7 separate regions of the Homo sapiens genome follow, and all the other regions are linked to region 5. The links are contacts of gene promoters, found by promoter capture Hi-C in blood cells and fetal thymus (Javierre and others, 2016). All regions are on one chromosome and are shown on one strand. The core of a region is centred on a gene start or on the middle of the fragment in contact, and the rest is flanking DNA. Distances in the headings are between cores, read along the strand shown. Region 1 holds the start of ZNF346 (zinc finger protein 346). Region 2 overlaps UIMC1 (ubiquitin interaction motif containing 1). Region 3 overlaps TMED9 (transmembrane p24 trafficking protein 9). Region 4 overlaps UIMC1 (ubiquitin interaction motif containing 1). Region 5 holds the start of RAB24 (RAB24, member RAS oncogene family). Region 6 overlaps UIMC1 (ubiquitin interaction motif containing 1). Region 7 overlaps HK3 (hexokinase 3).

Region 1 (4,234 bases), core at 1,655-4,154, 280 kb after region 5:
CCTCGGAAGTGTGGGGCTTGAGAGAAGGGAGGCGAGAGGCCCTAGGAGGAAATCTGGAGATTGGGACGATGGGGAGTCAAGGAGTGGTGAGGGGCACTCGGCTTGGCTTACCGGGATGGCAAAGACTGTAGGTCTCCGACAGGACGAGTATAGGGATGACAGTCCTCGAATGTGGGAAAAACTGCGCTGTAGTGAATGATGAAGGAGGAGGAGGAAAACCCAGGGCCTGAGCGTGAGCGGCCCTTCACCCTCAGCGCGCTGGGGGCCCGATTCTTGGGGTGCCCGCGCCCGGATGGGGAGCACAAGTCTGGGGGTCCCGGGGCGCAGCACGCAAGGAGGCGGGCCAGGGGGTGTGACCGTCGGCGCTTCCGCAGTTCCCCGCGAGCCGCGCAGCGGGCGAGGGGCTTTCTGCCTCCAAAGCCCCCGACTCACCTTCCTCTCTACCCACCGGCTGGGCACCGGACACGGCTTCCCACAGGCGGCGCGCCCTCTCGCGGTCAAAGCGCACCCCGTCCGGCTCCTGGCCCTCCAGCAACTCCGAGCTGCTGTAAGGCCCGGCCGCTCCGCCGTCCGCGGCCTGCACCGTGGCCGGCGCGGGATACTCCATCTTCCCCGCAAACCCTCACCGGTAGAGAGCCTCTCAGGCGCCTAGGTATCGCGAGATTTGGTGGGTGGTACTTGGCCCAGCCAACAAATCTCGCGAGGTTTGGGCGCTGCACCCGCGCTGCCGTGCGGGACCCCGCGCTTATTTTGCTTTGCTACCTCTGGTACCTCAGAGCGTGTGCCGTGGATTCGGAAACCTGTCGCTGATTCCGCAGCAGTGACCCCCCCCTCCCGGAGAGGCTCGTGTGGTTTTGGCTCATGGCTCTCACCTTGCTCACGGTCAGCCCTTGATACTTTTCATTTCGTTCTCAAGGTCCCGTTATGTGGGAGTGTTTTCGCCATTTCATTCACAGGGAAACTGAGGCCCAGAACCTAAAAATGGTTAACTCAAGAGCTCGCTACTAGTAAGTAGTAGTACAGCTAAGGTTCCATATTACTGCTAATAATACATACTATTTGTTGAGTTCCAAGTGCCAGCTCCCAGCTCTGATCTTCCCCGAGACTCCGGACCTGTATACATCCAGTTGCCTCTTCCACAGTTCACTCGAATGGCTAATAGGCTTCTCCAATGTAGCTGTCAGACCCCAAATTTTATCTTCCAACCCCAGAGCTGCTCCTTCCCGTGTCTTTGGGAGCCACCATCTCTTGCCTAGGTTATTGTAGTAGCAACCTCACTGGCATTCCCAGCACAGCAGTTCCAGGAATCCTCTTATGACAAGTCAGATCATGACGCTTAGGTTCTCAAATCCTCCAACAGCTTCCCATCTCACTCTTAGTAAAAGCCAAAGTCCGGCCAGGCGCGGTGGCTCACGCCTGTAATCCCAGCACTTTGGGAGGCTAAGGGGGGGCGGATCACCTGAGGTCCGGAGTTCGAGACCAGCCTGACCAACATGGAGAAACCCCGTCTCTACTAAAAATACAAAATTAGACGGGTGTGGTGGCACATGCCTGTAATCCCATCTACTCGGAGGCTGAGCCAGGAGAATGGCTTGAACCCGGGAGGCAGAGGTTGCTGTGAGCCGAGCTGGCGCCATTGCACCCCAGCCTGGGCAACAAGAGCGAAACTCCGACTAAAAAAAAAAAAAGCCAAAGTCCTTACTTCGACCAACAAGGCCCTGTACAATCTGACTTCCCTTAACCTCCCTGATCCTGATGTGTTACTCAGTCCCCAACTCCTTAATTCCTGTCCCAGTTATCCAGGCCTCCTGGGGTGAATTTCTCTCATATATCTTCATGGCTCAGTCTCCCACTTCCTTCTCTGGCTACTCTATCTAAAATACCTTGTCTGGCTATCCCATCTAAAATGTTACTTTTCCACACACACTTCATGTCCTTCTTTCCTGCTTTATTTCTTTTATATTTTACCTTTTATCTTGCTTATTGTCTGTCTCCCGACTAGAAGGCAAGCCCCAGGAAGGCAGGGATTTTTGTCTCTTTTCTTTTCTTTCTTTTTTTAAATTGTTTTTGAGGCAGAGTTTTGCTCTGTCGCCAGGTTGGAGTGCAGTGACGCGATCTCGGCTCACTGCAGCTTCCGTCTCCCGGGTTCAAGCAATTCTCCAGCCTCAGCCTCCTGAGTAGCTGGGATTACAGGCACATGCCACGGCACCCAGCTAATTTTTATATTTTTGGTAGAGACGGGGTTTCACTATGTTAGCTAGGCTGATCTCAAACTCCTGATCTCATAATCTGCCTGCCTCGGGCTCCCAAAATGCTGAGATTACAGGCACATGCCACCTTGCGTAGCCTTTTGTCTCTTGTCATTGCACCTGAATCTCCAGCACTTTGAAATAGAACCTGGACCCTCCTAGGTATATACAAAACATTTGTTTAATGAATGAAGCTTTTAATATTACTAGCTTATTTCAACCTCATTTTTTCAAATACTTATGGAGAATTTACTATGAGCTAGATGATATTTTGAGCATGGAAATATAGTGGTGAACAAGACAGGGAAGCTGTAGTAAAGTATTTTTTATTGTAGTGGAGGAGAGTACAATAAGAAAGTTAACAGTAGGCCTGGCGCAGTGGCTCATGCCTGTAATCCAGCACTTTGGGAGGCCGAGGCAGGTGGATCACGAGGTCAGAAGATCAAGACCATCCTGGCTAACATGGTGAAACTCCGTTTCTACTAAAAATACAAAAAAATTAGCCGGGCGTGGTGGCGGGCGCCTGTAGTCCCAGCTACTCGGGAGGCTGAGGCAGGAGAATGGTGTGAACCCAGCAGGCGGAGCTTGCAGTGAGCCGAGATCGTGCCACTGCACTCCATCCTGGGCAACAGAGCGAGACTCCATCTCAAAAACAAAAAAAGTTAACAATAATAAGTGCTAAGGAGAAGATAAAACAGGATTGCATCTCAGGTGAATGATGTGTTAGGAACATTAATCAGGGTGGCATCAGGAGAAGCCTCTGGGAAAATGACATTTGAGCTAAGACCTGATTAATGAGAAGGCGTAGCCATGCAAAGAGCTGGGCAAGAGTGTTCTAGCAGAGAGAACAGCAGGTACAAAGGCCCTGAGGCAGGAGAGAGCATGATGTGTTGGAGGAACAGGAAAAACGACAGCATGGCTGGAGCCCAGTGAACAAGGAGGAAAGTAATATCAGAGGAGGCCAAAGAGAGACAGATATGAATTATTCTTGCTTGAGATCATATAGCTCATTGGTGTAATTTAGTCATTTATACTACAAGTATTTCCTTATTTATACTACAAATATTGAGCACCAGCACTATGTCAGGCCTCAGGCCCTAGAGCTTCCAAGCTTCCAATACAGTAGGTGACTGATGTTTGGCCAGTGTTTTACAATTTTTTTTTTTTTATAGACGGAGTCTCTGTTGCCCAGGCTGGAGTGCAGTGGCACCATCTCAGTTCACTGCAACCTCCACCTCCTGGGTTCAAGCAATTCTCCTGCCTCAGCCTCCCGAGTAGCTGGGATTACAGACATCCATCACTATACCCAGCTATGTTTTCTATTTTTAGTAGAGACGGGGTTTCATCTTGTTGGCCAGGCTGGTCTTGAACTCCTGGCCTCAGGTGATCTGCCCGCCTTGGCCTCCTAAAGTGCTGGGATTACAGGCATGAGCTACCACACCCAGCCTACAATTTTTTTTTTTTTTTTTCCGAGACAGGGTCTCACTAGTGCAGTGGTATGATCATAGCTCACTGTAACCTTGAACTCCCACACTCAAGTGATCCTCCAGCCTCAGCCTCCTGAGTAGCAAGGACTACAAGTGGACACCAACATGCCCAGCTAATTAAAAAAAATTTTTTTTTTGTAGAGACAGGGTTTCCCTATATTGCCCAGGCTGGTCTCAAACTCCTGAGCTCAAGCGATCCTCCTGCCTCAGCCTCCCAAAGTGCTGGGATTCCTGGTGTGAACCACACACCCAGCCCAGGGCAGTGCTTTACAGTTTGCAAAGCACCTACATTATAGCATTTAATCCTCAGGGTGGTTTCTGTGAGGGATTTCTTCATAAGTGATGATAAAGAAACAGACTAGGAAAGGTAAAGGTTTTGTGAAGATCACACAGCTAGTTAGGTACGAGCCCATGCTTGAACACTGGTCCTTAGATTGCAAATCTATGTCCTTTTGCCAAAACCAGATGACCAGCCTAAAAGTCAGTGACTGCACATTA
Region 2 (4,214 bases), core at 966-3,465, 350 kb after region 5:
TTATCTAGTAGTTGAGTTTTGAGACTTTCTCAAGAGCTTAGTTTTGAACTGCATGACTGTTCTCCCATATGAGAGTTGAAGCCCACTTGCCATTTGCTGTAGTCAAGGTGGTGGTCTTTCTTAGGCTTCTGGTTGATAGTACTTGGTATTCCTTCCTGGGCTAAAGAATATGGCTTTGGTTTGATTTTCCTGCTGTTAAGACAGTTTTGGAAGTGGTTTTAACAGAGTATGCCTTTACTCCCTATAGGCCTCTCTGCTTTATTGTGGTGAGCCTTGTGCAGAGCAGATGTAGGTTTTAATAAATGATTATACACTTTGTCACCAGGAGAGAGTTGGAATCGCAGGCAATGTGGTTTGACTTCAAATTGATTAGCCCATTTTATAAATGTCAGAAAATTGTTTTGTGATGGACCCTTTGAATAGAGCACTAATGTTACATGCAGAGTAAACTGTCTGGCTGGGGTTTATAACAAATGCTATGAGATGTTTTATTTAGAGATAAATCACTTGTGGTTTTCTATCAGGATTTAGTTATTTATCATGAGTTCAGTTGTAGCTATTCTGTCTTCTCTGTGGTTCTTGGTTGATGTGAGGATTTTTGTTTTCAAGCATCCTCTTGCATACTTGATCAAACTAATCGTAAAGCCCTGTGAAGCATGAGGGGGCTAGCTCAGATGCTCAGATCAGCCATGTATTCCTATGTCAGGAAGAGATTGCACTCCATGAGCAGTCAGGGAAAACCAGAAGGTTGGATGAAGGAAGCCATTCATAATTAAGTTTTTGTTAGAAAAGAGATTCAATTTATGTGGGCAGATTTTTGCTGTAGGGCAGTTTGGAATTGTTTTTTATTTTTGTTGCATGGAAAGCAACATCTTGAGATAAAGAGGAGATTTAACTGCAAAAGGAGGAGAAAGTGTGTTGTCAGAAGAATCTCTGTGTCTTCTCTTGTCAGTTTACAAATCTCTAGCCTTCAGAAGGCTGAGATGGAGGCTATAAAACACCTTTGACATCCTTATATTGGAGTGGAGTTTTTGCCTTCTCTGATATTCACAGACAGTTCTCACCCTTCAACCTTCCTTTGTGAAAACTCCAAAAGGGAATTTGTTTTCATTCAGTGATTTCACTGGAACTGAAGTTGTAAGCATATTTATTTTCCATATTTCTGGTCTGGAGTTTTCAGTACTGATTCCTTGCTTTCCTATTGTGCTTTTGTGGTATTAGGCAGCAAGTATCTGTGATTACCTGTGGCTTTGTGAGTGACTCACCATTGCTTTTGGCTCTATGTTCTGATTTATTTTACTGGGAATTCATTTGGGATTTGGTTCTCTTTCAGTGTTGCTGCTTTGACCAGTAAGAGAAGCTTAGTCCTTATGCCAGAGAGTTCTGCAGAAGAAATCACTGTTTGTCCTGGTAAGTACCCCACTGTGATTTTACTGAATTTCTGATACCTATTTACCTTTTCATGCCTATTAATTTTCCTCTGACTCTTCAAACCTACTCTCTGGAGGTTTGTATGTAATTGATACGTGTATGTACATGTCTCAACACTCGTATGCGTATACACATATAGGTGTTTTTAATGGCCATTGGCTTTTATTCTCAATCTTTTCTCTCCTTAGGGGTAATTTAGTTTTGAAATTAACATGACTTTTTTTGTCTTCTTGATTGTTTACAGGCCTCATCAGAGATGGCAGCAAAGCATCAGGAATAGCATTTGCTTAACTGTACATTCAGAGCCTTTTGTTATTTAATTTGTTTAAATTATTTTAAATTAAATTGTTTTAAATTATTTTGTCAGCCAGCCTGGAGTGCGGTGGTGCAATCATAGCTCACTGCAGCCTTGAACTTCGGGGCTTAAGTTCTCCCTCCTTGGCCTCCCAAAGTGCTAGGATTACAGATGTGAGCCACTGTGCCTGGACTTCACAGCCTTTTAGTAGTTAGTTTTTATATTGCCATTTGTTGGGGTCTTACTGCATAGGAGGTTCAGAAATTGAGTTTTGTGCATGTTCTGTCATTATTTTTAATCTTAGACCTAAGATGCTTAACCTCGTTAAGTGCTTTAGTTTGCTTTTTGTTAATTGTAAAAATTAAAAGATAGGTACTTTGTTTTAGGTAGAAGAGATGCTCATTCAAAGTTGCACATGGATAGATTTAGATATACAAAATAATGTAAAATGAACTAAGATACTTACCATCTAAGAAACTCCTGAATCATTGTATAATATGAAGCATTATTTTGTGATATGAACCACTACTTTCTAAGGAATTTGTTTTAGACTATATTTTCCTTTCTGGCTTTTCTGAAAAGATCATTAGCCTCATTCCTGTGAGATTGAGGGACTTCCTACTGATGTTTAACTTTGAACAGCAAGTATACAGATGTTGCCCTAAGTCACATCTGGTTTTCCCTCAGGTCTCGTATAGCCTATAAGGATTAGAGATAATCATAGTTTTCTTATTTTGGTTTCCTTCAATGTTTTTCCACAGAGACTCAAACTTAGTTTGCATGTAATCTAGGAAAGACCTATAAATATTTTTAAACATCTGGCAGTCTATCATAAAGGTCTTTATTTATTTTAAAAATCGGACTATGTTGGCTTTTTTCTTTTTTTTTTTTTTTTGAGACAGAGTTTTGCCCAGGCTGGAGTGCAGTGGCGCAGTCATGGCTCGCTGACTGTAACCTTGAACTCCTTGGCTCAAATGATCCTCACTCCTCAGCCTCCCGAGTAGCTAGGACTACAGGCATGTGCCACCACACCTAACTAATTTTAAAAATTATTATTATTATTTTTTTTTAGTAGAGACGAGGTCTTGGTGTGTTTCCCAGGCTGACCTTAAACTCCTGAGCTCAAGTAATCCTCCCGCTTTGGCTTCCTAAAGTGCTGGGGATTAGGCATGAACCATCGTGCTCAGCCTATGTTGGTTTTTATTGAAAGTGGCTCCTTAATTCATTTGAAATGTGTTTGGATTACTGCCTAACAATACCCACTAAGAGACTACACTACCGAGTGCTCAGATTTTGGCAGGAGCACTCAAGAATACTGTGCTACCTTTGTGAAAAGAAAGCTTTCCCCCTCTGTCTGGGACTACTGACTTCCTAGAAGGAAATCACTCAGTCTGTTTAGGATGATGGCGTGTGACATCACCATGGGATCTTGCAGGAGGAACCTGCAAATATATTGATCTTGAAAGGCCTAGTTAATGAGAGGGAAAAGCAGGCCCTTCATACTGAGGTTAGATAGCTTTTATGATCATGACTTGCTGTCATTAGCCTGCTAATTAAGTCCAACTGTTTGCTGACATAAACCACTTCTAAATGAGATTGCAAAAGGTATTCATTACATTAATGTTCCTTTTGCTAAGAAAGTATAACTGCTTCACCATGAAGCCAAACTCCTGGGTTTCTTTTTAAATATATAATTTAGAAGTTATATATATAAATTATCTGAAAAAATTTGTTCCAAATGGGTGAAACACATATTTAGTGTAGTAGACTGTTACCTGTTTACTTTTGTTTCATATTTCTGACAGTTCAGGAGTCTAATATTTAAGATTACAATATCTTTTTAGTGTTACTTAGTTGAAGAAGCAGGATTATAGCCTTATGCCTACATTTTGCATGCTTCTAGCATTGCTTTTTTCTGAGAAGCTAATGCCCTCTTAGTTGGACATTTCAGCCATTCACAGAAAGCATAATTGAAGACTTTTTATTATTGCAGTAATCTAAGCAGTGAATGGTTCTTACTTTTAAATATGCTGAATATCTTTTTGAAAATACCTTTAGGGAAAGTTGACAGGATTTTGAAGTTTATGTCCTGTAAGCCTTTTTCCAATAAGGTGTGTGTGTGTGTGTGTGTGTGTGTGTGTGTGTGTATGTGTCCAGTTTTCAAAAAAATTTGTGATGTATTAAAATATAATTAATTCTAGAAATGTATTTAATCCTTTCTTAATGATTCAGAAGATACATTAGAAACTTGCAGATGCCCTATTTGCCTGACATTGGCCATTTATTGTTTTGTGAAGCAAAGTGCTAATTAGAGGTACAGCAGGTATAGTGTCAGATAACAGAGAACTTACTGGATTTGCATTCTGAAATAAATGTCTGGTTTTAGTTTGGGTTCCTGTAACAAAATGCTCTAGACTGAGTGGGTTATAAGCAACATAAATTTATTTCTCACAGTTTTGGGGGCTGGAGAGTCCAAGATCAAGGAGTT
Region 3 (2,500 bases), core at 1-2,500, 290 kb before region 5:
GACAGAAGACTGGCTTGCCTGCCCATTCCCCTCCCCCCACCCCCAACAGCAGCCTCACATCCCTGATCAGTAACACTGTGATTCTGAGGTGCCAAGAGGAGGGGCTTTACCAGCCCTTGGGTGATTACTACCAAACGGCCCAGAGGCCAGAGAGAGAGGGCAGGAATTTGCCCCACTACCTGCTCAGTATTAGCCAAGCTGCTGCCTTCAGCTTGTGCCTGTGGGTGCCTCCAGCCCCTCTCCCTTCCAGAACAGGTATGGCTGGAAACCAGTCCTCCTGACAGAAGAAGTCAGTTCCAGGAGGTCCTTTCTCCCCCAGCCTGGGAGGATGGGTTGTGACGCCTGGGACAGCTACACAAGCTTCTTGGCTTCAAAGAAGCTCTTGAGGTGCCGCATCTGCCAGACACCGATGGCCACGAGGATGAGGGTCTGCAGAATGGACCACCACAGCACCCGCTGGTTGGTGCTCTCACTGGTCTGCCGGAAGCGCTCCTCTCGCCACTGCAGGGGAATATAAGGTGAGCCTGAGTTGGCTGGGGCTGCTAGAACTGCTGATTCCCAGACCAAGAGGATGCCCAAGGTCAGCCAGCTTTGCCCAGGTTCCAGCCAAGTGCCTGCAAAGTGTCACTCTACCTGGGGACTATCTTTACCCTCAGGCAACCTACTCATTCTCCCAAGTCTGTTTCTTCATCTGTCAGGCATAGCCCTCACCTAGTCCTGCCCTGGTGCCTGGGAGAGAGGTAAGGTAGTTGTGGTATCACCCCACGAGGCAGAGCTGTCCTGGAGCACACAGGAGTGGACTTGCTCTAAGCCCTCTGCCTAGGTCTCCCACACTGCTCCTTGAAGATGGTGGGCACAGGCTGTAAACTGGCAGGCTGGGGGCTGGATCTGGCCTTTAGGTATGTTTTGTTGGCCTCACACAGTGCACAGTCTTTTGTCAACATTTAAAACACAGGTAATTTGTGCAGCAGCAATAGAAAAAAATAAAAAATAAATTAAAATGTTCGCATAAAAATCCTATTTCCTCTTGAAAAAATGGAACATCTGTAAAGCCAGGGCTGGTATTTCTGCAAGGAAGCCCCCAGGTGACACTGAACAGTGGCTGTGCTTGTTTAGATGGGTCACTGCCCTACTAGTCCTTAAGGTCACAGATTCACTTATGGTAATCTCTGGTTCCTGGTCACCGGTAAGTTTGAGACCCTGGTCCTGGGAGCATGTGGACCCACTGAAACAGCACCCAAGGTGTTGGTATCAAATGCTACTGTGCCATTCTGTGTGTAACTGTGATTTAGGGCAATGACAGCCTCTTACGAGTCTGTATCCTCAATTACAAGGTCGAGTTAGTAATACCCGCCCCACGACCTACAATGCAGTGCAGGTAAGTCCCTTGGGGGTCTCAGAATGAATTTAATGTGAAATTCCTGGCTGAGCCAGTGGGCAGCTTCTAGGGAGAAGCCCACTGCTCCCGGCCCAGTCACTCACCCGCTGGTAGTTCTGCTCTTTCTGGATCTGCTCCACTTGTTCCACCAGCTGTCGCACTCGTAGCTGCAACTCACTCAACTTGTCTTTAGCAGCAATTTCTGCATAGTCATTGGCATGTTCACCTACCTGGATGTCCAGGTGAACTCTCTGAGGACAGACAAAGGAGATAAGGGAAATCTGGTAGCCCTGCTCCATCTTCCTGCCAGAGACTGACAGCTCATCCCCGACTTTCCTTCATCTGTTCATTTAGCCAACAGACTGGGCCCTCTTCAGTGTCTTAGCCCCATGAGGCTCTGGGCACACAAGCAAGTATTAAGCCTGGGCTGGTGCTCTGAGTGAGGCATGTACAAAGAGCTCAGTCACTGTGTCCTGGACATCCAGTGGAAACCCAGTGTTCTTAGGAGACACAAAATCTGACATAATCCTCTCACACCCACAGCACCACCAGTCCCCCAGTCCTCACCAAAGGATGAAGGCTGAAACCTGCAAGTCTCACATGGGCCCACTTACCAGCATGCCTCCAGCAAAGAGGGAGAACTTGGTGGAATTGGAGTGAAGACAGATCTGGTGCTCACCAGGGGTATGGGAAGTGAAAGTGAACCTGCCCTCGGAGCCATACTGCCGGGCCAGGATGACCTGGAGGAAGGTAACAAGCTTCAGTCAGTATTATGGTAGGGATGGGAATGGAGGAAAACAGTGCTTAAGGCTCTAAGTACTGCAAAAGTTGACAGGCACAGCCTTTCGCACCTCACAACACTGAAAGATTCAAAGCTGCTCAGCAGCTGTTGCCATATGCTTGTGTGAGAACTCTCTGGGGCAGGTGTTTAGACTCTGAGAGTCTGACATTAGGGTGGCAAGTGACTGACTGCTCTTGGGAAGGGCTTTCCTTTATAGCTTATGCCCTTTCAACTTTTTTGGTGTGAGTTGTTTTTTGGGGGGTTCTTTTTTGTTTTTGTTTTTGAGACAGAGTCTCACTCTGTCGTCCTGGCTGGAGTGCAGTGATGCTATCTCAGCTCAC
Region 4 (3,808 bases), core at 465-2,964, 370 kb after region 5:
CTCGGCATCATATGTCTTTATAGCTTTGATGCGAATACCCCAGACCTCCATGTGAAGATGTCTGCTATATCCTGAATGACAGTCACACTTTCTTTTTCATAGGGAAATTTGTTATAAAAACTAGTTTAGAAGACAAATTTAGAATATAGTCACGTGTTGCTCAGTGATGGGGATGTGTTCTGAGAAATGTGTCATTAAGTGATTTTGTTGTGCAAACATCATAGAGTGAGTATACTTACACAAACCTTGATGGTGTAGTCTACTACACACCTAGGCTATAAGGTATAGCCTATTGATCTTGGGCTACAAACCTGTACAGTGTGTTACTGTACCGAACACTGTAGTCACTTGTAACACAATGGTATTTGTGTATCTAAACACATAGAAACACAGAAAAGGTATAGTAAAAATATGGTATTATAATTTTATGGCACCCCCATCATATAGATGGTCCGTTGTTGGCTGAAATGTCTTTTTGTGGCACATGACTGTACTACATCCTTCTTTTCAATGCCAATGTGTCTACCTAGAGCCAGAAGTTTGCTTCTTTTCTATCACCTATTACTTCATATTTACCTTTAATTCATCCAGATATTTTGGAGCTTTTCTTTTTTTTTCTTTTTTTTTTTTTTTTGAGACAGGATCTCACTCTGTCACCCAGGCTGGATTACAGTGATACAATTACGGCTCATTGCAACCTCTGCCTCCTGGGCTCCAGTGATTCTCCAACCTCAGCCTCATGAGTAGCTGGGACTATGGGCACACACCACCCCGCCTGGCTAGTTTTTTATATTTTCTTTTGTAGAGAAAGGGTCTCACCATGTTGCCCAGGCTGGTCTTGAACTCCTGGGCCCAAGCAGGCATCCCGCCTTGGCCTCCTAAAGTGTTGGGATTACAGGTGTGAGCCACCTTGCCTGGCATTGCACTTTTTTTTTTTTTAAATGGTGCTAGGCCTTATGAAGCTTACTAAAGAAGTTTTAAGATTTCTCTCTTCAAGGAGCTTGCATTATCAATGGTGAAATAAGCATTTCCCCAAGAAATTAATTAAAAGATGACACAAGTGAATAATTGTGTACCCAAGTAAATGTCCCTGACAATGGGAGAAAGGAGAGCTGCAGTGAATAAGGATGAGATCCCAGAAAGAGTGGGCTTAGCCTTGGCTTTGCAGGCTGGTTAGGTCTGGATAAACCCATAGCAAGGTAGAGGGCCCTTTCCCCTCCTATGGGTTTAGATAAGATAAGAAGCAAGGGAAATGGCCACTAAACAATAGCTTCGTCTTAATCTTCCTAAGAGAGCTCTCTGTTGATTTTTCAGGCCCTATGAGAGGGAGCAGGGTGCCCTCACTGGAACCATTCTACTCTCTGCATGTTCCTCTACTTTCCTGGGAACAGAGCTTGGGGGTATAGGTGGGTTGGGGAAGTAGAGGAATTATGCAGAGCACCTGCTAGTGTACTTGGTGTACAATAGGTACTCAGTACGTTTGATCTCTTTACTTGGTTTCCCCACCAGCTTGCCTGCCCCATCTTCCTTGCCAGAGACAGAAGTTAGTGATTGTGCTGGTTCCTCTTAGCTTTATATGACTGGAGACAGAGGCCAGGCTCCCAACCTAGTTTTAAAATCTTTTGTAAAAGGAAGCCTTTTTTTTTTTTTACTGTGGAAGGAAAGAAGTAATTTTCCCTTTTTTTTTTTTTTTTTTTTTTTGAGACAGGGTCTTACTCTGTAGCCCAGGCTGGAGGGCAGTGGTGGAATCATGGCTCACTGCAGCCTCAACCTCCCAGGCTCAAGTGATCCTTCTGCCTCAGCCTCCCGAGTAGCTGGGACCACAGGTGCATGCCATCACGCCTGGCTAATTTTTTATTTTTTGTAGAGATGGAGTCTTTTTATGCTGCTTAGGCTGGTCTTGAACTCCTGGGCTCAAGTGATTCTCCTGCGTTGGCCTCCCAAAGTGCTGGGATTATAGGCCTAGGCCACCATGCCTGGCAAGTTACTTTTCTTGAAGACACATAAGCCAAGCTGGGAGACCATTAGCCCAATGCTTAAGGGGTGGAATAAGAGAGGACGTAACCTCCCAGTATTAAGTATCTAGCTTTTCACTCCTTCCTGTCTTCCCCTGAAGCGGATCCTAGACGTGCTTGGTTTGGCTGTGTAAAAGAAATAGCAATTAGAATCATTTACATAAAGTGTCTACTATTTATGCCTACTTACCGTGCAGCACAATAACAATTATGCATATCATTAAATATATGTCTGACTAACTTTGCTGTAAGTTTTGATTATAATACTACGCACTGGTTAAGTTGGCTCAGTCTACTCAGTTTTTTGCTCAATGACGTTGTCTATTCAGAACTATGAAAAATTAGAGGGAATGCTTTTGTTTCTTTTTTTATTTTTATTTTTTGAGACAGAGTCTTGCTCTGTCGCCCAGGCTGGAGTGCAGTGGCACGATCTCGGCTCCTGCAAGCTTTGCCTCCAGGTTCATGCCATTCTCCTGTCTCAGTCTCCCGAGTAGCTGGGACTACAGGCGCCTGCTACCACGCTCGGCTAATTTTTTGTATTTTTAGCAGAGATGGGGTTTCACCATGTTAGCCAGGATGGTCTCGATCTCCTGACTCATGATCTGCCCACCTCGGCCTCCCTAAGTGCTGAGATTACAGGCGTGAGCCACCGCACCTGGCCGAGGGAATGCTCTTTAAAGGTAATGTTTGAGGGGAGAAGATTGACTACGTTGATCTAGACTAGAACAAATGCACGTTGCCTTTGCATTTACTTTCTGGAAAATGTATCTAAGGCCAATTGTGTTAGACACCTAGGGAGAATAAAAGCCCCCATTTACTCATTCAATACGTATTTATTGTATACCTACTATATAACAGATACAGTGAGCAGAATATACAATTAACAGAATATAAGTCCCTGTTCTCATGGAGCTTATTTTCTAGTAGTGGGAGGCAGACAAGAAAACAGTAAATATACAATATTTCAAGTGGTGATAAGTACTTTAGAGAAAAAAGTAAAGCAGAGGGAGAGGGGAATAGGGAATACCGAGGTCTCAGGAGGTAGCAATATAAAATAGGTGATCAGGGAAGGTCTCCTTGAGAAGATGACATTTGAACAGGGGCCTAGAGTAAGTGAGGGAATAAACTAAGAAGATTGTGAGGTGGGGAGAGTGCTACAGGTAGAAGGAACAATAAATGCAAAAACCCTGAGGTGTGAACAGGTTGAATGTGGCTGGATTAGAGTAAGTAAGGGAGAGATAAACAGTGAAACCAGAGAGGTAACGGGGAGGAGTGCAGATGGACAGAGCACAGGGTTCTTAGGCCATAATAAGGACTTTGGCTTTTCCTTGAGCAAGGGAGGAACCACTGGAGGGACTTGAGCAAAGAATAATATTTAAGCAAAGGATCACTCCACTCTGGTTGCTACTATGTGGACAGTAGATTACTGGGTTGTGGGACAAGGGTGAAAGCTGGGAAAATAGAGTCAATATTTTGTTTTTGGCACTATGATAAAGTAGAAGAAATGTCAGTTTTAGAACTAGGCAGCTCAGCTGTAATATTTCCTAACTGGCTAATATTTGACAAGTTATCTCTTTCAGGATCAGGTTCCTCATTTGTAAAATTAGTATGAGGATTGCCATGAGAATCACAGACACTTTGTAAAGTACCAGGCATTGTGACTAGCATGTAATAGGTATGCAATAAATGGTGGCTGCTATTATTATTGACTGTGCTTTCCTATCTGTGTAGTCTTTCTGAGGTCTGTGTTTCTGTGTGATGGTGAGACATAAAAGATAAGCCACTAGTTGGGT
Region 5 (3,895 bases), core at 1-2,500:
CCTGCCTCCGGCCACAAAAGCTGCCTTATGGCTCTCTAGCCACATGTATCTGAGGAGCTCTCTATCTCGGGGGGAGGGGAGAGGGGGAGGTGCAGAATCACAACAGGAGGTGTCTCACCATCAGCCGGGCGTGGTTGATGTTCCAGGTGAAGGTAGTCATGGTCTGATTCTGTGGGTCCACAATAGAGTCCTCCAGGACGTACACCGAGTGAGCAACATTGGCAGGAAATAGTCGCTCGGCCCAGCGTGGCATCCTGTTGGTCTTGGTCAGGAGTCGCCGGGACAGCAGTTTCTGGTCAGGGGTCACCTCCCGGTGTACTATGTCTTCCGTCAAGACATGTTTGCTGCAGGTGTCAGGGTGAAGGTGACCCTCAGAAGCTTGCCCCTAAGAGACTGCCCGAGGGGATTCCCATTTGGAGGCTCCGGGCCTAGAGAGGCCACGCCTTCCCGTAACCTTGCAGGGTGGTATGTGCTATGGTTCAAACCAGAGTTAAGGGCCCATCCCAGGGCAAATTCCCACTCCCGCCATCTGACTGACCTGGATTCCTGCCTTCTAGCAGGAATGGACCTCATGATTTATTGCACCCCAGGAAAGCGCCACGGGCAGAGAAATAGGATTTCCAACTCCAAGATCCCTCCCAACTCCCATACTGCCGCCTCTTCTTGTCTCACCACACTGAGAAAAGAATCTTACACTAAGGTCTCAAGTAAACCACCACCCAGGCCCAACCTCCCTTCAGGACCTTGCAGGCCTGGCCTGGCCGCTTCCCCGATAAGGTCTACCTAGGATTCGATATCGAGTCCTTCCTGGTCCCAGTACTTGGGGGTTACCCATAATTCGATCTCCAGATAGCGAGATGGCGCGGTTTTGCTCTTCCAAATACCACGTACCTATAGGGATTCGGGTACCGCTGCCAGAAGGCGGCGAACACTTGGTCCCAGGAACTCCGGAGCACGCTCTGGCCCAGGAAATACTTCACCATCGTCCCGGCCGAAGCGGGCTCAGCACCCGCGCAGCATCAGGGGTGCGGAGCCTGGGAGGCACGCGAGGGCCGGGCCGGGCCGGGGCTCGGCGCACACCCGCCGCCAGGCTCGTAGCTCAGTCACCACCGCACCGCGCCCAAGCAGCTGCCGCCGCCGCCGCCGCCGCCATGAGTTGTCCGGCCGCGCGCCACTTCCGGCGCAGCCACACAGTAGCCACCGCTTCCGGCGCCCGCGCCACGTGACCTTGCGGCCCCGCCCCCTCGCCCTCTAGCCCCCTCCCGCGGGAGTCGCGGCGCTGCGGGTAGGAGCCGGGTTGCGGGAGACCCCAGGTTCGGTTGGGATTCCCAGCCAGAACGGAGCTTAAGCCGGGCAGGCGAGCGAATGACGGAGTAGCGAGCTGCACGGCGGCGTGCTGCGCTGTTGAGGACGCTGTCCCGCGCGCTCCCAGGCCGCCCCGAGGCTTGGGGTCTTCGAAGGATAATCGGCGCCCGGGGCCGAACAGCGGGGGCACACGGGGCGCTGCCGAAGTGCAAGGCCACGGCCAGAGCTCGAGCCCGACGCGCTGTCTGGAGTCGTAGGTTGGCGCCGTTTGGGGTCGGGGTCTGAGGCTTGGGCGCTGCCTGGGCCGAGCGGAGATCGGGGTTTGCCTCCCGTCCCCGCTCAGGACCCTGACGTGGCTGAAGCGGCCCCGGGAGCATGAGCGGGCAGCGCGTGGACGTCAAGGTGGTGATGCTGGGCAAGGAGTACGTGGGCAAGACTAGCCTGGTGGAGCGCTACGTGCACGACCGCTTTCTGGTGGGGCCTTATCAGAACGTGAGTGCATCCGGAGGGGCCAGGCACGGTGGGCGGGGGAGTGGGGGGCCGGTAATCTGCACCTATGGCCCCGATCTCTTCCCTCTCGTTGCAGACCATCGGGGCCGCCTTCGTGGCCAAGGTGATGTCGGTCGGAGACCGGACTGTGACATTAGGTATTTGGGTAAGTCCCCCGGCCATCTATTCTTGGGAGACTCATTCCTGAGGAGGTGTAGGTCCTGCCTATTACTGGTTGATTTGTGGCCTCACAGACCCATTTCTCATAGACCCGTTTCCTTATCTGGAAAATAGCGGGGTCTGGAGAACGTGGCCTTAAGTTTGACTCAGGCCTTACTCTTTAGGACACAGCAGGCTCTGAGCGCTATGAGGCCATGAGTAGAATCTACTATCGGGGTGCCAAGGCTGCCATCGTCTGCTATGGTAAGGGGGGGGGGGGTTTGGGCTGTCTCACAAGAAAAGATGGGTGCCAGGCTAGCCAGAGAACAGCCCTTGACCACTTGGTTGTCTCCTGCATGCCGCACACCAAGACCTCACAGACAGCAGCAGCTTTGAGCGAGCAAAGTTCTGGGTGAAGGAACTGCGCAGCCTAGAGGAGGTAGGTGAACAGACCTCACTAGAACACTAGGGGCTGGGGTTTTGTTGGCCTGTGGAGGTGACCCTTGTCTTCTGCCTCAGGGCTGCCAAATCTACTTATGTGGCACCAAGAGTGACCTGCTGGAAGAAGACCGGAGGCGTCGACGTGTGGACTTCCACGACGTCCAGGACTATGCAGACAGTAGCTGCTCCTCAGCCCTTTGGGGGGTGGGGGTGTGTGGCTGTCTGGGTGGATCAAAGAAAATAGGGACTGCCTTGGCTGCCAGGGCAAGGTGCTCTAGGAGGTCTTCCTGGCCTCCTTGAACTGTGGGGTCCAGGAGACTCCCTGAACTGCTAGCCCTCCCTTTTGTCTGTTTATCTAATTCTCAGGTATGAGGCTTTAGTCACTTCTCTTTACAGATATCAAAGCTCAGCTCTTTGAAACATCCAGCAAGACAGGCCAGAGTGTGGGTGAGTGCTGTGCTGGAGCCTCACAGCAGGAACATGCAGGGGCACCAGAGGAAGCTGAATAGGGCACAGAGGGCTGGGTCACTGGGAGATCCCAGGGCTACTGGCATTGGGCCCTCGCTGATCATCATTTTTCCTGCCAGACGAGCTCTTCCAGAAAGTGGCAGAGGATTACGTCAGTGTGGCTGCCTTCCAGGTGATGACAGGTGTGTGCTTCCCCAGCCTTTATGGAGACTTACTCTAGGCCCACAGCATCTAGCCCCTTTCCTGAGTTACCTGATCCCAACAGAATGGTGCTGAGCTGCCACCTCTCTTTTTGACAGAGGACAAGGGCGTGGATCTGGGCCAGAAGCCAAACCCCTACTTCTACAGCTGTTGTCATCACTGAGTCAGCACTCACCTGGCCTGGGGGAATTAAAGGAATTCCCCGTAAGGGCTGGACCCAGCTCCTTTCTGGGCTTGGGTAGTCAAATGTCTGAGCTACCCCAGGTCCTCATGTCAGCAGAGTGGCGCCTGCCTGTGCTGGCCCATGGAACGGAGACAGCATTGGGCTGACTGTGGGCATGAGGAGGGATAAGGCTGATTTGGACCCCAGGCTTCTGCCCTGGACAGCACTTGTGTCTGCAGATTATTTAAGTGGCTTTTGATCTGTAAATAAAATCAGTGCACTGTGCATCACACCCAGCCCCTTTCCCTGCTGTGTGGATTAGGTGTCAAGACACCTAGTTCTTCCTGGGGCCACCCGGCTGGCCTCACTGCTTATATTAAGGCTCCTCCCAACTCTCATTTTCCTTTGGAAAACAAGACTTTTTTCCCCATGGTTACCGCTGAGATACTGGGGCTGTAGTAGTATAAAAGCTCACAGTTCCTTCTGAGTGCTGAAAAGAGTGCATGAGTTGCTTCGAAATAAAAGGGTCAAGCATTCCTACCTGAGACAGGTTGGTCTGACTAGCTCTACTGCATCTGTCATGTTTGGGCCCCTATGTCAGACCTGTGACTCAGGTCCTGAGCTTCCCAGTGACATCCTACAATGTGGTTTAATGGTAGGAAAGTCCTA
Region 6 (4,123 bases), core at 80-2,579, 380 kb after region 5:
CCCAAGCAACTGGGTTAATGATGACTTCGTTGTTTGAGAGCGGGAACACTGGGGCAGGAACAGGTTTGGAGGAAGAAATTAAGAATTTGGTTTTGTACATAATTTTAAGATGCCCAGTGAATAACCAAATGAAGATGTTGAGCAGACAGCAGGATATACAAGTCTAGAAATAACCTTATGGGAAATATTACTGCATATTTGTATGCTGATGGAATGATCTAAAAAAAGAGGGAAAAATTGATGTTTCAGGAGAGATGATGGCAGGAGGGGAATCCTTAATTAAGCAAGAAGCGTTCAGATTCAGGATCAAATGGAAAAGTGAGCCTTAGATAGCCGTGTGGGCAATTCATTCTGTGCAATAGGAGGGAAGGCAGAGGATATGGGTACAGATGCAGATAGACTAATACTTTTGGTGGTGGAAGAGTGTAGAAGTTCTCTCAAGTACTACTTTTTTCTCATCAAAAAAGTCTGAAAGGTTGGTTTAACATTAGAAAATCAGTTAATATACTGTATCATAGAACAAAGGACAAAAACCACACGATATCTAAATGGACACAGAAAAAGCATTTGAGAGAATTCAATACTCCTTCATGACAATAAAATACTCAGCAAACTAGGAATAGACAGGAACTTCCTCAGCCTGATAGAGGGCGTCTATGAAAAACTCACAGCTAATATCATACTTAATGGTGAAAGACTGAAAGCTTTCCCCAAAATCAGAAACAAGACAAGGATGTTCATTCTTGCCACTTCCATTCAACGTGGTAAAGGAGGTTCTAGCCAGGACAGTTAGGAAAGAGATGAAATAAAAGCCATTCAGGTTGGAAACGAAGAAGTAAACTACTCTATCAGATGACATCTTTTATATAGAAAATCCTAGAGAATCCACTGAAATAAAACAAGCCTTTAGAACTAATAAACGAGTTTAGCAAGTTTGCAGGATACAAGGTCAATATAGAAAATGAACTGTATTTTTGTACACTAGCAGTGAACAATCTGAAAGTGGATTTAAGAAAACAGTTACATTTAATATACTATCAAAAATAATAAAATACTTAGGAATATGTTTGACAAAAGAAATAAAAAACTTCTCTGAGAATTATAAAACATTGTTGAAAGAAATTAAATAAGACCTAAATAAATGGAATGGTATTTCCTGTTCATGGTTTAGAATACTTAATGTTGTGAAGATGGCAGTATTCACCAAGTTGATCTACAGATTTCAAATCCTTTTCAAAATCCCAGCTAGGCTGGGCATGGTGGCTCACGCCTGTAATCCCAGCACTTTGGGAGGCTGAGGTGGGCGGATCACCTGAGGTCAGGAGTTCGAGACTAGCCTTACCAATGTGGAGAAACTCCGTCTCTACTAAAAATACAAAAAAAAAAATTAGCCAGGCATGGTGGTGCATGCCTGTAATCCCAGCTACTCAGGAGGCTGAGGCAGGAGAATCACTTGAACCCAGGAGGCGGAGGTTGTGGTGTGCCAAGATCGCACCATTGCACTCCAGCCTGGGCAACAAGAGCGAAACTCCTTCTCAAAAAAACAAACAAGAAAACCCCACAAAAATCCCAGCTAACTTTTTTTTGTAAATTGACAAGTTGGTCCCAAAATTCATACCAAAATACAAGGGGCACAGAATAGAACAGTCTTGAAAAAGAACGAAGTTAAGAGTTCATACTTTCCAATTTTACAACTTACTAATTAAGACATAGAGGTAGGCATTACAGTTCAGTGGAATAGAATTGAGGGTCCAGAAGTAAAACCATACATTTGTGGGCAATTGATTTTTGAGAAGAATGTCAAGACAATTCAGTGGGGGAAAACAAGGCAGTCTTCTCAATATGTAGTGCTGGGACAACTGAATATCCACTTGCAAAACCATGAAGTTGGACCACTTGTTTATACTACGTATGAAAATAGATCAAAGACCTAAATGTAAGTCATAAAGCTTTTATAGGCAGCTACAGTGGTACACACTGGTAAGTCCCATCTACTTGGGAGGCTGAGGCAGGAGGATCCTTAGAGTCCCACCTGGGCAACACAGTTGACACCTTGTCTCAGCGAGTCAGGGGAACTATCTTAGGGATAAAACTTCACAACCTTAGATTTGGCAGTGGATTCCTAGATATAATACCACAAGCACAAACAACAAAAGAAAAAGATAAATTGGACTTTATCAAAATTTAAAACTTCTGTGCATCAAAGGACACTATCAAGAAAGTGAAAAGACAACCTACAGAATAGGAGAAAATATTTGCAAATCATATGTATGTTAAGGGTTTAGTATCCAGAATATATAAAGAACTCTCTTTCTGTTGCCCAGGCTGGAGTGCAGTAGTGGAACCTTGGCTCGCTGCAGCCTCTGCCTCTCCACCTCAAGCAATCCTCCCACCTCAGCCTCCCAGGTACTTGCCATTGAATCATAGACTTTAAATGGGTGGATTATATGGTACATGAATATATCTCAGTGAAGTTATATTTAAATAAAAAAGAATAGTGATACAGGAATCGGAATGGATATTAGAGTTTTGAGAATAGCAGAGAAGATGTGAAATAGTACCTGGGAGGATGGAAGAATGAACCGACTAGGAAAATATGTCAAGATTGCTAGCAGTAGTGAGGGACCACTTAAGATTTTGATCTTAAATAAAAAGTGAGGCCAGTCAGCACGTTGTATGTGTTTTTGTTCCTGTCACATTCAGCAGATAGGGACACCTAATAAGTAGGAGGGCTGTATTTAACCAAAGTCGGATTGCGCAAGTAAGTACAGTAGAAAGAAGTTGAGGGAATATTCAAGGGGAGTGTTAATATGATAACTATGTAAACTAAGGCAAGAAGGAATGCGAAGATATGACAGGGTAATCGTGAAAAGATGATAGTATAGGATTAGATGTCCTAGTGGGGCTGAAGGGTGATTGGTGTAAGAACATTAGAGAGGGTGAGTTGGGAAAGATAGGTGATGGTGAACAGAGAATGGACACCTGAAATTGAGCTCATCATTAATGATAGGCTCAGCTAGAGTTCTTCATTAGAACCATGGAAGTCAGAAAATGAATTCATTGTTTGCTTACTTCTCCCAGTTATGATACATAGCTGGTACCACTTTAGATGCAGGGGACAGAAATTGACTTATAACATTTGGTGGGTGCCTTAGGGCATTAGGCTTACTCCTCTCTTGGAACCCCACTGGAGAAAGGCTGAGATGGTAGGAGCCATAGGAATTAATAAACAAGAGGTCAGGGAACTGAGAGGCTGGAGTACTGGATGGATCATATCTTGGGTTGAAGTTACAAAAACTGCAACTTCATATGGTTCAGTCTAATATGTAGATATTGAAATCACCAAGAATGGTGGCAAATGGGGATGAGAATCCAGTTGAAGAGGTATGCCAGAGGAGGCTTGGATTTCTTTTGGTGCTCAAGGTAGACAGAATTGAGGCATAATAGGATTGGTCCTGGTTAATCTCATGAAAGAACAGCACTATCCAATGGGAACTTGTGCAATGATAGAAGTGCTCTATAGCTGTGCTGTCAAATATGGTAGCCACATATGGCTATTGAGCATTTGAAATGTGGCTCATGGGACTGAGGAATTCAATTTTTTTTATTATTTTTTGAGACAGAGTTTTGCTGTTGTTGCCCAGACTGGAGTGCAATGACATGATCTCGGCTTACTACTGCCTCTGCCTTCCAGGTTCAAGCAATTCTCCTGCCTCAGCCTCCGAAGTAGCTGAGGTTATAGGCATGCGCCACCATACCCAGCTAATTTTGTATTTTTACTAGAGATGGGGTTTCACCATATTGGTCAGGCTGGTCACGAACTCCTGACCTCAGGTGATCCACCCACCTCGGCCTCCCGAAGCGCTGGGATTATAGGCGTGAGCCACCGCTCCTTGCCCAATTTTAAATTATATTTAATTCTAATTAAGATTTAAATTTAAGTAGCCACATGTCTCAGAAACTGATAGATAATTTGTTTTTTTGTTTTTGTTTTTGTTTTGTTTGAGACAGAGTCTCATTCTGTCGCCCAGGCTGGAGTGCAGTGGTGTAATCTTGGCTCACTGCAACCTCCGTCTCCCGGGTTCAAGCAGTTCTCCTGCCTTAACCTCCCGAGAAGCTGGGG
Region 7 (3,887 bases), core at 1,384-3,883, 410 kb after region 5:
CCCTTCAGACTCCGATCCACTCCCGGATCAGTCTTCTCCAAATCCATCCCCTTGCTCTTCCCCTGGATCTTCGAATGGCTTGTTCCCTTCCTTCATTTAGATCACCTCCTCAGGGAAACCCTCTTGAACTCATATCTAAAAATACCTCTTTCTACCCTGGTCACTCTCTAATTTCTTATCCTGCCCCCCTACGTTTAATAGCCACCATCACTACTGGAACCAAATTGTATGTTCACGTGCTTAATTTCTGTCTCCCACCCTGGAATCTAAAGCATTTGTTGCTTCTTGGGTGGTTATGTGTGTGCGGTGCTTAGAATACAGCTGGGTGCATAGTGAGGGCTGGAGCAATGTTTTGGGAAGGATGACTGACTGAAAAAAGGACCATCCTCTGCAGTGTGGTCTCCAAATGCTCTCGTGCTGGGCTTTTTCAGGCTTCAGAGTCTGAGAGTGGATTAGGAGAGGGAAACACTTGAAGTTTGTTCGTGCATTTGTTTATTCTCTTGTTCGTTCAACAACAACTCACTGAGAGACTCTTGCTGTGGGTCCTGGGGAGCCAGAGAGCAATCATTAGTGGTATGGCAGGAAGAAGGTCTTGCCAAACCCTGAATTCAAAGAAGAGGAGGGGTAGGGTAGAGGATGTAAGAAATTGAGAAGGAGCCGTGAGGTAATGGGGCAGGAGGAGGAAGAAGGTGGGTTCTCTTTCCAGGACAGAGCCTTCTGAGGATGCCAGAGCTGGGTGCAGGCTGTTGGCAAGAGAGTCAGGGTGTATGAAGAGCCGAGGAGTGGGCTGGGCAGGGCAGGCCTCTGCCTTGTTTGGAGGTGGGGAGTCTGGCCAGCCCAATGGTGCTCCTTCCCAGATGTTGGCCTGTTTCTCCCCAGGTGCAGGAGTGCCTGCAGCAGTTCAAGGTGACAAGGGCACAGCTACAGCAGATCCAAGCCAGCCTCTTGGGTTCCATGGAGCAGGCGCTGAGGGGACAGGCCAGCCCTGCCCCTGCGGTCCGGATGCTGCCTACATACGTGGGGTCCACCCCACATGGCACTGGTGGGTATCATAGATTGAGATGCGTGGCCAGGCCTGGAAGAGGGTACTGATCTAGGGGAGGGAAACGTTCCTTATTCCTGTCCCCCATCTCTATGGCCCCTTGACCAGACTTTGCAGGCCTTAGGAATTTGGGAAGTGGGCAGAGGGCTCTGGTCTTGCCAGCTGCATGGCTTTCTGTGACCTGCTTGCCCTCCAGAGCAAGGAGACTTCGTGGTGCTGGAGCTGGGGGCCACAGGGGCCTCACTGCGTGTTTTGTGGGTGACTCTAACTGGCATTGAGGGGCATAGGGTGGAGCCCAGAAGCCAGGAGTTTGTGATCCCCCAAGAGGTGATGCTGGGTGCTGGCCAGCAGGTAAGCACTCACTGCCCAGCCTCTGGGGTCTGGGGGCCTGGCTGGGTGGCTAGGGCTCAGATGGGCAAGGCTGAGCCCCCCCACTTCTCCTGCAGCTCTTTGACTTTGCTGCCCACTGCCTGTCTGAGTTCCTGGATGCGCAGCCTGTGAACAAACAGGGTCTGCAGCTTGGCTTCAGCTTCTCTTTCCCTTGTCACCAGACGGGCTTGGACAGGGTGAGGTGGAGTGGACATGGGACGCTGGGTAGAGGGTGGCTGCAGCCCCATGAAGGCCGTCAGAGGAGTAACCCAGCTTCTCTACCTCCAGAGCACCCTCATTTCCTGGACCAAAGGTTTTAGGTGCAGTGGTGTGGAAGGCCAGGATGTGGTCCAGCTGCTGAGAGATGCCATTCGGAGGCAGGGGGTGAGTGGAGGGAGGGGTGACAGGAGGGCTGCCCATGTTGGCCTGGGCCTGGCACACATGCGTTGGGTCTGGGCTTCTGAGAGAGTTGCTTTCCTCTTCTCTTCATGTCCTCCATCCAGTTTAACCTCCATCCAGTTTAACCTATACATGGTACATGTTGCTACCATTCCCATTGTATAGGTTAAAAAACACTGAGGCTAAGAAAGGTCAAATAAACATTCAGGACCTGGGGCAAAAAAACATGAATAGACTTTGACCTCCTCCTCAAGGTTTTCACAGTCTAGATGGGGAAGCATTCTAATAAAAGATTGTCCGTGTCAAGGAGGAGTGCGTGGACAACTCTGGGAGCACTACGGAGGAAGCACTGGCTCTTTGATCAGGGGCTTGAAGGAGGAGTTTGCCTCCCTTCAAGTCAGGCTGGGGCTGGGGCGGATGATCTAGTCTCAGAGAAGGCCACACACAAGAGTCTGGATGCTGGACAAAGGCTGATCCGTCTGGGCTAACCTCTTGTGGTGAGAAGCCAGTGCTGGGAGGAACAGGCTTGGGGAGCCAGGCAGGATGACAGTGAGGCTGGCAAGGCGCAGAGTTCAAGGAGGTGCTCAGTCTCAGGAAACTCATCCTGGTCCTGGGAGATGGTGAGGGTGGACGTCACTGTGACCTGGGGGCGCAAGTTGGGGGTTAGGGAGGAGCTGAGGGTGGGATTGGAGGAAAAGTTCCTATAAGGTGGGAGCCCAGAGCATCTGTGGCACAAATGTGTGTGGCATGCAGACATGTGTTTCATGGACTCTATGTATCTCCTTCAAAGCCAGGGCCCCAGCCCTGCCCATCCCCTGGATTCCCTCCTCTGGCCACTCAGGCCAGCCTTGACCTCTGCCCTCTTCATCATCTAGGCCTACAACATCGACGTGGTTGCTGTGGTGAACGACACAGTGGGCACCATGATGGGCTGTGAGCCGGGGGTCAGGCCGTGTGAGGTTGGGCTAGTTGTAGGTGAGCCATGGACCATTTGTGATGACAGGTGGAGGGTGTGCTGCCTGGCTAGCAGGCCTTGACAGGGTTGTCTCTGCCAGACACGGGCACCAACGCGTGTTACATGGAGGAGGCACGGCATGTGGCAGTGCTGGACGAAGACCGGGGCCGCGTCTGCGTCAGCGTCGAGTGGGGCTCCTTCAGCGATGATGGGGCGCTGGGACCAGTGCTGACCACCTTCGACCATACCCTGGACCATGAGTCCCTGAATCCTGGTGCTCAGAGGTGACCTGGCAGGGGGCCCTGACCTTTGGTTCCAGGCCCTGTCTATGACTGCTCTGCTCCCAACCCCTTCTGTCCCTGTTCTCAGGCCCTTAGGCCCCTCCCTGTCACTCTGAGGGTCTCCAGGGAGCAACCTGGGGGCCCTGGCCAGGTTCAAAGAAGGAAGGGCCCAAAGTTCTAGAATCCAGAATTGTCAACCCTTGATCTTCCCTGTTCCTGACTCTGGCCTGCCCTGACAGTTTGGGGGTTGAGGGCTGGAAGTGGTTGAGCAAACTGCTCTCTGCCTTCCTTTGGGTCCTTCTTGTTCTCCAGGAGGCTTCTGAATGTAACCTATGTCAGAGGGGGCAGTGGGGTCTGGGCATACACCCACCTGTCCTCTGGGAGGCTATTCGTTGCTTCTGGAGTCTCCAGTTTGGGAGCCCCAAAGAAAAGAATCCTTCTTTGGGAACTCTTGGAGGTAGGGCCAGGTGGACTGAGGGCTTAGAAAAGGCTTCCTCCAGCCACCCTTCCCCCCTGCAGGTTTGAGAAGATGATCGGAGGCCTGTACCTGGGTGAGCTGGTGCGGCTGGTGCTGGCTCACTTGGCCCGGTGTGGGGTCCTCTTTGGTGGCTGCACCTCCCCTGCCCTGCTGAGCCAAGGCAGCATCCTCCTGGAACACGTGGCTGAGATGGAGGAGTGAGTCGGGGAGATGGTGGTTTAGTGGGGGATTCTTGGCTTGGAGGAAGGGGATGATACTCTGTTCCCAAGGTAGCCATGGGGCTTTAGTGGGATGGGGAGCTTCTGGGCTGAGCCCCAAACCACTTCCCTTTCCCCTCCAGCCCCTCTACTGGGGCAGCCCGTG

Evidence for each region. Contacts are between HindIII fragments. The CHiCAGO score rates a contact against its expected background, and 5 or more counts as called.
Region 1: a fragment that was not itself captured here is called in contact with the fragment with the promoter of RAB24 in region 5 in 1 of 17 cell types (M1 macrophages); the score reaches 6.6 in M1 macrophages.
Region 2: a fragment that was not itself captured here is called in contact with the fragment with the promoter of RAB24 in region 5 in 1 of 17 cell types (monocytes); the score reaches 5.0 in monocytes.
Region 3: a contact is called between a fragment that was not itself captured here and the fragment with the promoter of RAB24 in region 5, in 4 of 17 cell types (monocytes, activated CD4 T cells, neutrophils and 1 more). The highest score is 6.4, in monocytes.
Region 4: a contact is called between a fragment that was not itself captured here and the fragment with the promoter of RAB24 in region 5, in 1 of 17 cell types (monocytes). The highest score is 5.2, in monocytes.
Region 6: a contact is called between a fragment that was not itself captured here and the fragment with the promoter of RAB24 in region 5, in 1 of 17 cell types (monocytes). The highest score is 5.6, in monocytes.
Region 7: a contact is called between a fragment that was not itself captured here and the fragment with the promoter of RAB24 in region 5, in 1 of 17 cell types (monocytes). The highest score is 5.7, in monocytes.

Annotation. Positions count from the first base shown.
Region 1 is chr5:177,019,112-177,023,345 of GRCh38, reverse strand. It overlaps ZNF346 (zinc finger protein 346), which reads right to left and starts at 650. Exons shown (of 7, transcript NM_012279.4): 1 at 433-650. The coding sequence starts at 607. It also overlaps a transcript of UIMC1 not described here. RefSeq lists enhancers at 1-408, 836-885, 409-946 and a silencer at 286-435. The HindIII fragment of the contact is 917 bases long and covers 2,446-3,362 here.
Region 2 is chr5:176,953,155-176,957,368 of GRCh38, reverse strand. UIMC1 (ubiquitin interaction motif containing 1) reads left to right here. Exons shown (of 15, transcript NM_001199298.2): 8 at 1,334-1,410. Among named protein-coding and RNA genes, the nearest start is that of UIMC1, 52 kb to the left of the region's middle. The HindIII fragment of the contact is 1,706 bases long and covers 1,363-3,068 here.
Region 3 is chr5:177,593,268-177,595,767 of GRCh38, reverse strand. TMED9 (transmembrane p24 trafficking protein 9) reads right to left here. Exons shown (of 5, transcript NM_017510.6): 3 at 1,993-2,118; 4 at 1,483-1,629; 5 at 1-501. The coding sequence ends at 352. Among named protein-coding and RNA genes, the nearest start is that of TMED9, 2.3 kb to the right of the region's middle. RefSeq lists an enhancer at 1,161-2,360. The HindIII fragment of the contact is 1,776 bases long and covers 363-2,138 here.
Region 4 is chr5:176,936,083-176,939,890 of GRCh38, reverse strand. All of the region lies in intron 10 of UIMC1 (ubiquitin interaction motif containing 1), which reads left to right. Among named protein-coding and RNA genes, the nearest start is that of HK3, 39 kb to the right of the region's middle. The HindIII fragment of the contact is 1,499 bases long and covers 965-2,463 here.
Region 5 is chr5:177,301,074-177,304,968 of GRCh38, reverse strand. It overlaps RAB24 (RAB24, member RAS oncogene family), which reads left to right and starts at 1,250. Exons shown (of 8, transcript NM_001031677.4): 1 at 1,250-1,797; 2 at 1,892-1,960; 3 at 2,139-2,217; 4 at 2,325-2,392; 5 at 2,473-2,572; 6 at 2,791-2,841; 7 at 2,982-3,044; 8 at 3,162-3,771. The coding sequence starts at 1,681. The coding sequence ends at 3,226. It overlaps PRELID1 (PRELI domain containing 1), which reads right to left and starts at 1,170. Exons shown (of 5, transcript NM_013237.4): 1 at 892-1,170; 2 at 119-344. The coding sequence starts at 983. RefSeq lists enhancers at 40-109, 120-189, 340-399, 420-469, 580-679 and 3 more and silencers at 910-1,049, 1,160-1,239, 1,290-1,359. The HindIII fragment of the contact is 8,255 bases long and covers 381-3,895 here.
Region 6 is chr5:176,917,453-176,921,575 of GRCh38, reverse strand. The region is part of intron 10 of UIMC1 (ubiquitin interaction motif containing 1); the gene reads left to right. Among named protein-coding and RNA genes, the nearest start is that of HK3, 20 kb to the right of the region's middle. The HindIII fragment of the contact is 1,245 bases long and covers 707-1,951 here.
Region 7 is chr5:176,888,543-176,892,429 of GRCh38, reverse strand. It overlaps HK3 (hexokinase 3), which reads left to right. Exons shown (of 19, transcript NM_002115.3): 3 at 880-1,042; 4 at 1,239-1,393; 5 at 1,489-1,608; 6 at 1,700-1,795; 7 at 2,686-2,785; 8 at 2,866-3,049; 9 at 3,566-3,721; 10 at 3,865-3,887. Among named protein-coding and RNA genes, the nearest start is that of HK3, 8.9 kb to the left of the region's middle. The HindIII fragment of the contact is 6,946 bases long and covers 1-3,887 here.